Regions from separate parts of the Homo sapiens genome. Here all the other regions are linked to region 2. The links are contacts of gene promoters, found by promoter capture Hi-C in blood cells and fetal thymus (Javierre and others, 2016). All regions are on one chromosome and are shown on one strand. The core of a region is centred on a gene start or on the middle of the fragment in contact, and the rest is flanking DNA. Distances in the headings are between cores, read along the strand shown. Region 1 has its middle 31 kb from the start of PRDM8. Region 2 holds the start of LINC01088 (long intergenic non-protein coding RNA 1088). Region 3 has its middle 13 kb from the start of PRDM8.

Region 1 (3,213 bases), core at 249-2,748, 1.3 Mb before region 2:
TCCTTATTTGCCAAGGCACTCTCTCATAATACTCCTTGAAGAAGACTCTTTGCATCTTCCAGAAATTCTTGCTTGACTCCTCTGCTTCTTCCCTCCTCCAAGTGCAACTTTTCTCTGAAGCCCTACCTTAGTCCTCTTCTCTCCTCCATTAATCTTGATATAATATAGTGAGAAGAACTGGCTTCGGTATAACACTAAATTTTCCTCTCTATAAGGATGATATATTTCTTTATTTGTTTAGGCTTTCTCTTATATTTCTTGATAATGTTTTATAATTTTCCTATTAGAGATCTTGCATAAATACTTTTTTCCAGATATTTGATATTCCTTGATGTTCACTTTGATTATTATAAAAGTGTCTTTTTGTTCATTACATTTTCTAGCTTTTGCTGCTTGTATGTAGGAATACAATTGACTTTCTATATATTGCTCTGAAATCCAGTCATTTTGCTAAACTCTTCTTTTCATTCTATTCAATTATTTGTGGACTCTTTTGGATTTTCTATGTACATGTCTATAGCTGACTAATAGATTAAGAATAGTTAAGATACTTCTGAAGAGTAAGGAAGAGGAATTTGCTCTACTAGATAGTGGGATTTACTGTTAAGACGTAGTAATTAAGACTGTGCAGTAATGGCCCAGGCAGAGATAAATGAATCAGTGAAACAGAATAGAGGGACCAGCAGCTTGTATGCAAATATAGCTTATGCTCAATCCAATTCTACTTTCATTTCTAAAATACCACTGAAACCACTTGTAAGATCCCTAATTATGTCAACTTGCTAAATATAATGAACAATTCTCAGTCCTGGTTTTTCTTCCCTTTTCAGCAGCACTGGCACAATTGATCATTACCTACACATGGAAGCACCTTCTTCACTTGGCTTCCAGGATACCACATTGGTTTGCTTCCTAAGCCACTAGACACTGCTTTCCAGTTATCTTTTCTGGTACCGACTTATTTCACCAACCTCTTACTTTTGTCATAAGGACTATCTGAAGGCTTAATCATTGGTCCTCATCTTATCTCTAATTAAATATTCTTTATTGATGAATTCAACAACTCTCATGGTTCCCAACATTTACCTATATGCCCATGAATCCAATCCATGCTTCTATATCCAATTGCATATCCACACTTGAATTTTTAATAGAATTATAAACTCACCACGTACAAATTTTACCTCCAGTTTCACTTCCCAAACCTGCTTGACCTGAAAACTGCCCCTTCTCACTCGATGGCAGCTCTATTCTTCCAGTTGAACAAATTAGAAACTTTGGAGCTATCTTGTATTACACTTATTTTTGCTCATGCTCCATGTCCAATCAGGAAATCCTTTTGCATCTGCTTTTAAAATATATCCATCTTTAGTGTCCAGAAAGTAATCTCTAAATACTATTCCTTATTAATAGAACCATGTCCTTAGAGACATGGCTGATTGAAGGTCTGGAGCAGAAATTCTGCTATGTTGTTAAACCAGAGTGCAAGGAAGCTGTCAAAGACCGTTAAAGACTTAGGAGCCAACTTGAAGGCATAGCTATTGAGAACACTTATAGTAATTTCTCATCAATAAGAATTATATACACAGTGGACTCAAACCTACCAAATACGTTTATATTACCAGTTTATTATGGTACCTCAAAGAAGCACACACACACAGTAACACACCTTGGCCAGTCATCTATAGAGGATGCTAGCAAAGCAACTCATTATTTTGAAAACTGGTAAAAATAAGAATGTGAGATCAAGTTTTATTTTCCTGTACCTCAAAATGATCAAATAGTTAATTGGGGAAATTTTCTTCTCATGCAAGTTTTTTGTACTGCCTCATAACCTCTTGCTTTACTTTCTGTTCTGGCCATTACTTAGGACTGTTTCAGGTAGCTGTAACCTAAAAACACATTGCCTCAGCTGTACCACTAGTCTCTTTCTGTTTGCTCTGGGGAGACTCAGTCACTTTAGTGTGGAACACTTGCTGAAATCTTCCTGGCACTCAGTACATACACAACCTAGAATAAAAAAAAGTTAATATCCCATAAATTGGCCACTGGCTAGTGGAGGACCAGAGCCAGAGGATAAATTTGCCTCTTCTGTCCTTGAAAAGAAATGTGTGAAGTACATTCTACACAGGTACTCTGGAAATCCAGTAAGATTGTATCTCAGGTGCCCACAATGGTGGCCAACTCAACAGCATACCATTCTGTTGGCTTTCTCTCCTTCCCTCTTTCATTCTTCCTAATCTTGTTTCCTGGAATCACTTTTTATAATAAATTATCAGCATCCAAGTCTTTGTCTCAGGCTCTACTTTCTGGAGTAAATGAAGAAAAAATAAAAATATTCCAGCTAATAATTGAAGAAAAAATGTTAGAAGAAGAAAATCCCCATTTTTAAAATATCTAATGAAATACTGGGTCAAGGCAGTAACCAGAAATGGTCATTACCATTCCTAAAAGAGATAACCAAACATGTGGCTGCTGATAGGTGTTCATAAAAACCATCTATGAAGAATTCTGGTCAAGTCTCTAGATATTTAACAGCCAATTAACAGGAACTAAAGTTAAGAGAGGAACACGATTTAATGACACTATAATAATGTAATCAGAAGAAATCCAGGATATACGAAATTTCATAGGACAAATAGCCCAGTTTCTTTATAAAATAAATTGCAAGGAAAAAACTAAAAGGAGATTTGTAGATTTTTGAAGATTTAAGAGACTTACAAATCAATTATAATTTAGTTATTAATTCAATCTAATTAAAAAGTTAGTACAGTATAAGGCAATAAAGGAAATTTGAACACTGATTTAATACTTGATGATGTTAAGAATTTAATCTTACTTGAAAAATGTGATAGTCTATTTTTGTTTTAAAAATGTTCCTTATCTTTTAAGATTACATATTGAAATATTTATGAATAAAATGATTTGCTGTCCGGAACTTGCTTCAAAATAATCTTGTAAAGCAAGGAGTGGGAAGTCGTAGATTTAAAAAAAAAAGTTGGTCATAAGTAGATCATTATTGAAGTTGGAAGGTGGGTGCATGTGGGTTTATTATTCTATTCTTTGTACTTTTGTATAAGTTTGAAATTTCCCATTATAAAAAGTATCCAGAATTTAATCATCTACTGACACTACTTTCACTATCACTAGCCCAGGTGGAGCTACAATTATCTCTCACCTGAATTTTGCAATTGGTCACACTGATTTCATTCG
Region 2 (3,491 bases), core at 336-2,835:
ACAGATGTTTTGTTGATTTAGCAATTATTTCAAAGGTAACAAAAACTCTGGCTAACAATAGAGGAGGAAGGAGCTTACGCTCCAGAAGAAACACACCAACAACTACAAATTCACAGCCACTATCCACCAAGGGGGTACAAAATAATAGTAAGAATAACAATAACAAAAACAACAATGAAAGCACTAAGATGCTTTCAAGGGAGGCACCATAGCAGAGTCGTCATGAGCACAAGACCTGGATCCTGCCAATCTGGGTCTCAAGCCCATCTCTGTTACTTACTAGCTGTGAAACGCTGAGCTGTTTCTTAATTTTTACGTGATTTAGCTTCCTCTCTGAAAAATGAAGATAAAAATAGTATCAGCACCACTACAGTATTACTATAAGGACTAAAGAATTACCTTTTGTAGAGAACTTGGAACAGTGACTGGCACATAAAAAGTATTCAATTAATGTTGGTTATTTTTGTTAATTGAAAGAGTTTTCACAGACATATCTCAAAGGACCAGCACTGAGAGTTTTCCACACATATATTATGCAGACACACACACACCCAAGACCTTTTTCCCGACACCTCACATTAACACTACACTTTGATACAGTGTGTACTCTCTCAGGCCCTTTCCTTGGGCTCTTACACAAAGCCAAGAGTTCTGCCTGTTGCTCTTTTCCCTGATGTGACTATTACCTGTGTTAAGACAGGTATCTTAACATGCATAGATCTTAAATCAATCTATGCATGGCTACCATTATTTCACTGCAGAACACGGACTAATAGTCCCAGCTTTACTTCTCAATCGAGGCTTTCTGTAAGAAGAAGAGCTTCCTATCCAGGTTTTCTTATGAACACACAAAGACCAATCTTTTATCCATGGCCTAACCCAGTGTTTACCAAACTTGAATACATCTGAAGACTTGCAAAGCTCTATCAATTTCTGTCTGAGAGACATATTCCAACCCTTAAATTTATGAAAGACTCAACAAGCTGAAAAAGCAAGCAATACAATTTCAGAGAAGTAGTTTATCCAAGGATACATGGACAGTAAAAAGTAGAACTATGCCTTAAAACCCTTCTTTTGACTTTAGTACAATGTTTTCTTTTAAATTTTATTTATTCAAGAAGTTTGGAATTTAGAAATCATGGAGATGATTGGGCAAACCTAATACTAAAGGAAAAGTCAGATAATCCATAATATCATTGCTTTTTATCCCATTAAAAAAGCTGAGAATACTAATAAAGCTAACTTAACTAAAATCTGTATAGTTATGATCCCGTTCTATAAAAGAAGAGACCAGTGAATTTTTTCATCCCTGGTGGTGCAGCAGGAAACAGAATCTACCACAGAAAAGAAAATGAGGAACTACATGAATCTTAGACAACTATTAAGACCTGTGTGTGAACTAGCTTGACATGCTGGAGTCCCAAGGAACCCATCCACACCATCAAGCTGTACTCACCTGCCAGCACTTTACCACAGGTCTTCACCAGGCACAGAGGAGGACTATACTGAAGACTGAGGGAAAGTCAAGAAATCTGAGAGAGAGAGATCCTTGAGGCATGTGAACCTTCCCTAAGTGCAAGGCAGCATCCCAGTGAAGACTGGAGTCAGGGCAGAAGAGTTAAAAGAAATCTGTCTGAGAAAGTCTAGGCCTTCACTAGGTCAAAACAGTTGCAACGGAGGCCAGAAATAAGGCAGAAGAACTGAGAACAGTTGCTCAGAGTGTTGCAAACTTTCATTAAGTACAAGGCACTGGATGCCAAAGGCTTGAAGCAGCAGAGCAAAAAGAAGAGAGACCTCCTGAGATTAATAAAGTCAGAAACAGGAAAGGAAAAAGAACTCCCTAGCAACCAAAACAGTCTGGGAGCACACAGAGATCTCTGAAATCTTGCCAGTGCTCAGATCACAAGCCCTAGTGATAGAAAAGACCTTATTCTGTTTTCAAAACATTTGAAGTCAGTGGTAAACTAATCCAACTAAAGCTGAAATAATCCCACATACCTCAAATATACAACAGATTTCCTCAACTTTCCCAAGAAAAGGTCTAACAAAAAAAGTATGCACTTTTTTAGGGTAAATAAATATTAATTTTCTCAATCTCTACTATTTTTCTCACAATATCCAACATAGAGTAAAAAATTTTGAGACCCACAAAGAGAAAAAATGTGAGCAATAATCAAATGAGAAAACAGTCAACAGGCTGAGACTCTAGAAAGCACAGACGTTAGATTTATCAGGGAGTAACTTCAGCATAACTATGATAAATATGTCAAATAATTCAGTGGAAAAGGTAGAGAGCATGCATGAATATATAGAGAATTTCAGCAGAGTAATGAAAAGTATGAAAAGAAACCAAACTGCAATGTCAAAATTTGTTTTTAAAATACACTGTCATCAAAAGAGAATACATATTAGGAGTCTAACAGGCCATAAAACACAACAGTAGCCTATTAGCAGCAGCAAAAAGCAGAAGTAAACCTGAGGACAGGTCAATTATCCAAAAATAAATAAATAAATAAAAGGGGGAATGAGTGAAAAACTTGAGTCTATGATCTCTAGGACAATATTAAGTAGCCTAGTAAATATGTAATTGCATCTGTGAGAGATAGAAAATGAGTCAGAAGAAATCCTTGAAAACATAATGGCCAAGAATTTCTCAAAATTGATTAAAAATATCAAACCTCAGCATCAGGAATCATAGTAACCCCAAAAGAGGATAAACACAAAAACAGAACTAGGCACACCATACTCACTCTGTTGATAGCCAAAGATGATACAAAAATCTTAAAAGCAGTCAGAGAAAAAAGAAACATTACACGGAAGAAAAAAATGATAAAAATTATGTCTAATTTCTCTTCAGAAACAATTACTCCAAAACAATGGAATGACATCTTTAAAGAGCTGAAAGTGAAACATGTTAGTCTGGAATTCTGTATAGGATTCTAAATAGATTCTACATAAAATTGTAGCATAGTCCTATATCCTACAAAAATGAAAAATAAAGACATTTTCATACCCTTCTCCCCAAATCAGATTTTTTTTCCAGGAGACCTACACAAGAAATGCTAAAAGAAATTCTTCAGGGCCGGGCGCGGTGGCTCACGCCTGTAATCCCAGCACTTTGGGAGGCTGAGGCAGGCGGATCACAAGGTCAGGATTTCGAGACCATCCTGGCTAACATGGTGAAACCCCATCTCTACTAAAAATACAAAAAATTAGCCAGGCCTGGTGGCAGGCGCCTGTAGTCCCAGCTACTCGGGAGGCTGAGGCAGGAGAATGGCATGAACCCAGGAGGTGGAGTGTGCAGTGAGCCTAGATAATGCCACTGCACTCCAGCCTGGGTGACAGAACGAGACTCCGTCTCAAAAAAAAAAAAAAAAGAAAAAAGAAATTATTCAACATGTACATAATAGGCACATAAAATAGGCACAACAAACCATTTGGCAAAATCCAACATCCATTCCTCATAAAACGACTCAGTGAAAAAGAAACTG
Region 3 (3,437 bases), core at 120-2,619, 1.2 Mb before region 2:
CATGGGGAAGTCATTGCCAGAGGTCCCCTCTTTTTAGCATCCTTATCTGATTTTCTATTTGGCCATGTGCCTGGGTCTTCGAGCAGGCTGCTGTAAAGAGCCAGTATGACAGGCACTCAGAAATTGTACATTAAACTTTAAATTTCTTCTCCTGAAATGTATTCAAAGGAAAGCCCCCATCCCAGAGAAGAGAGTAACTTGTGAATATATATATATATATATATATATATATATATATATATCTGAAATATATATATGAGAAATATATATATCTAAAATTCCAAGTTTCTATTTCTGAGTTGTTATAAATAAATGTATTTTGAATATTTAAAGGATTTAAGAAATTCAAATGTGAGCTGCTGGCAATCATATAACTTGATGAGACTTGTTTTACCATGCTATTAGCTTTACTATGCTTGGAATTAGATTTTTGAATGTTAGGTTTCCTAAATATCTCCCTGGCTTTAAGTTTAGGCATGTTTGGAGGTTTAATAAATACTTTCAGATGCAGCCTCAAAGTCAAATACCTCTGATTTGGAAGGAGTTTTAGGCATTATTACCCTGGTGGAGAAGTACCTCTGCATATCGATCCTTCATCTTTACTTAGACTGCTCCAAAATTAGAAATTAAGCTTTAAAAAGCAAATGGAGAAGCAAATACCTTCATGTAAATTCAGACTTTTTTTTTTTTTTTTTTTTGCTGTTTATTCACACAGGTGGCAATTTTGGATACTACCTCTTTGTTGGAGGGGATAGAACTCAGGGAAATCTAAGAGAGCCTAAAGGTAAGAGACGATTGAAAATGGGAGGTTCTGAGATGGAATTTAGGGAGCAGATCGAATGTCCCTGAAAATAAGCTTCATGGCATTCACCATTTATCCACCTAGCCCTGCTAAAGCAAATAGTTAAACTAGCACTGTCTACAAAAGCATTTTAATGAAAAAGTCAATTTACTCCTTCCTGAAGGCTAACTCTTATCTTTCTAGGAAGGACCTTGCAGGAATATTTCCTTTATTTTCTTTCCTCCTCCTTCGCTTAGCCCTGACGCTGGACCTCTTAGCCTAAAGAAGAACTGAACACTATGGATACTAAAATTTTTCTAATTACATGATTTGCATCCATTTGGGGGCTGGGTGTCACTGTTTGGCTCTGTTTGTCTTTCTCAAAGACCCAGTGAAATTTTGCCAGAGTGTAAAACAGGACTTTATTCATTTGTTTGAGAGAGAAAAAAGTCATCAATTGCTTAAAAAAAAAAAAAGTTTCACACTTCACAAAAAAATAACAAAACACAGAAAAAGTGGCACAGGCAATAGTATAACACCAACACACCCACCCAGAGATGAATCCTCAGAGAAAAGTGCAATCATGGTATGCCTGTCCAGATTTTAATCCTCGAAGCAGGTGTGCACAAGAGATCTTAGTCAACGGTGGGACTGATTTATGGATTTCTACTCTGAAACCCACAGTAAGGCTCTTCTCCAAAGAAAATGCCAAAAAAAAAAAAAAAACAGTATGAGAGGAATTTGGAATTGGTGGCTGGACATTTGTGGGAAAAGAAGTAAAGGGACAAAAAGTTAGATAAATTAATCCCATGATTATTTTTCTTCCCAATTTCTCTCTTCCTTCTTTCCATCCTTCCTTCCTTTTCTTTACTCCGTCCCTCTTCTCTTCTCCTTCCTTCCTTCCTTCCTCCCTCCCTCCCTCCCTCCCTTCCTTCCTTGTTTATTTTTTACTTAAAGAATTTATTCTCTAAATAATTTGGGAAAACAAGATATTGTATGCATTCTTCAAGTCTCTATGTTTTAGCAGCATTAGAGTTCTTTATGATTTTTTAAGTCATGCATTATTTTTAAAGATCCATTTAAAAACAGGAAAAAGCTTGAGCTGGAGTGAGGGATCCGTTTTGATCTGTAGAGGGAACATTGTCTTCATTAAGCACTGAGCACAGTGTAGCTTTCTAAGTAAGGTGCAATTTGTTACATAGTAACTAGGAAAAGGGATAAGCTTCTCTCCTGCATTGTAACCATACTTTCTACAGCATGGCAAATTATATCTAGAACTCCTCTTATAGCCTTTTCCATCCTTAGCATTAGGCTGACTTACAATTTTTAAGCACTAGGAACACGCTGTATTTATAATTTAAGATTATTACAGCTAAGCCAACTAAAATATATATATATAGTTATATACACATAACTGTGTATATATATATATATATATATATAGTTTTATGTGGGGTGCATGTGTGTGTGGAGTGTGTGTGTGTGTGTGTGTGTGTGTATATATATATATCATGAATGAACCTATAGGCTTACATGATATTATGTATCAAACATTTTTTCAGTGACTCTCCTGTAAGCTTGAGGCACAGAGTAAAATCCTGAGTAATTACATAAACAACCACAAAATCAAACCAGCGATTACTCCCACCTCTGGTTAAAAATGAGAAAAGATCATTAAAGTAAGTCAAGGTCACAAAAGATTTCTTATAGAGGTATGAGAGCATTTTGACTACCTGAGAAAGATAAGTTGAGGCTAAAAGCATATCTCTTTTACCAACATGGGAGTCAATCATATTCAATAGTACAAAAAGCTGCTACATGTAGAATTATATTTGCTTTTCAAGACACCGCTATGTGATAAGCCCACAGGTGGTATTATTCACATGTTCAAGTAAAGGAAACTAAGATAAATAAATGGAAAGGCCACAAAATTTGGAACCGGTTTCCTGACATAAGAGTCACTATTTTTTCATTACATTATCACATTCTCATCTTTCTGTTTCAGAGTGACAACCGTACTAACTACACAATGCTGAAACATGATGGAGTGGGATTCTCAGTAGCCCTTGGGTAGGCTGTGAGAATTAAAGCAAGTAAACACATGAAAAGCACTTAGAATAACGCCTGCCAGTTATGTGCCTGTGTGTGGATTAAAATGTTTATGTATGTCTGTATATATAAATATGTGTATCAGTTTGTAATATATACTTACATATTTGAACACATATGCACATGCCTGCACATATGCATAGATTTATATTCTAATGCTCACACACAACTTGAAAAGAGATAAGCAAATAATAATGAGCATAACCAGGTTAGCTATTCAAACAGAACACCTGTACCAGACCTCTAATCCTAAAGATTAAAATAAAAGAATTAAATTTTTTTCAGTTTCTTTATTCACTAGGCCTGGAGAATACAGGTTTCTAAAACGTTCTAAGTTCCATATCTAAAGTGGGAAAAGCAGAGGTTGCCTTAGGAATATGATTCATGAAGCAGAGGCAAAGAGCTCCGCAGCTGCTGCCCAGCCAGTTTACAAAGCTAGAAGGCAATCATTCAGGCCCACCAGCCTGAGGCATATGTTACTGCCTCAACGTTCTGGGCCTTCTGTCAAATAAAATGCATTTGGAGGAGGAAAAGGGAGTGAGAAGGC

What was found. The method cuts DNA at HindIII sites, captures the fragments that hold promoters and counts their contacts. A CHiCAGO score of 5 or more calls a contact.
Region 1: a fragment that was not itself captured here is called in contact with the fragment with the promoter of LINC01088 in region 2 in 2 of 17 cell types (total CD8 T cells and fetal thymus); the score reaches 8.7 in total CD8 T cells.
Region 3: a fragment that was not itself captured here is called in contact with the fragment with the promoter of LINC01088 in region 2 in 1 of 17 cell types (fetal thymus); the score reaches 5.4 in fetal thymus.

What each region holds. Positions count from the first base shown.
Region 1 is chr4:80,227,333-80,230,545 of GRCh38, reverse strand. No RefSeq gene overlaps it. Among named protein-coding and RNA genes, the nearest start is that of PRDM8, 31 kb to the right of the region's middle. The HindIII fragment of the contact is 3,701 bases long and covers 1-3,213 here.
Region 2 is chr4:78,969,842-78,973,332 of GRCh38, reverse strand. LINC01088 (long intergenic non-protein coding RNA 1088) reads right to left here and starts at 1,585. Exons shown (of 6, transcript NR_038342.1): 1 at 1,457-1,585; 2 at 281-333. The HindIII fragment of the contact is 4,785 bases long and covers 1-3,491 here.
Region 3 is chr4:80,208,699-80,212,135 of GRCh38, reverse strand. No RefSeq gene overlaps it. Among named protein-coding and RNA genes, the nearest start is that of PRDM8, 13 kb to the right of the region's middle. The HindIII fragment of the contact is 1,021 bases long and covers 859-1,879 here.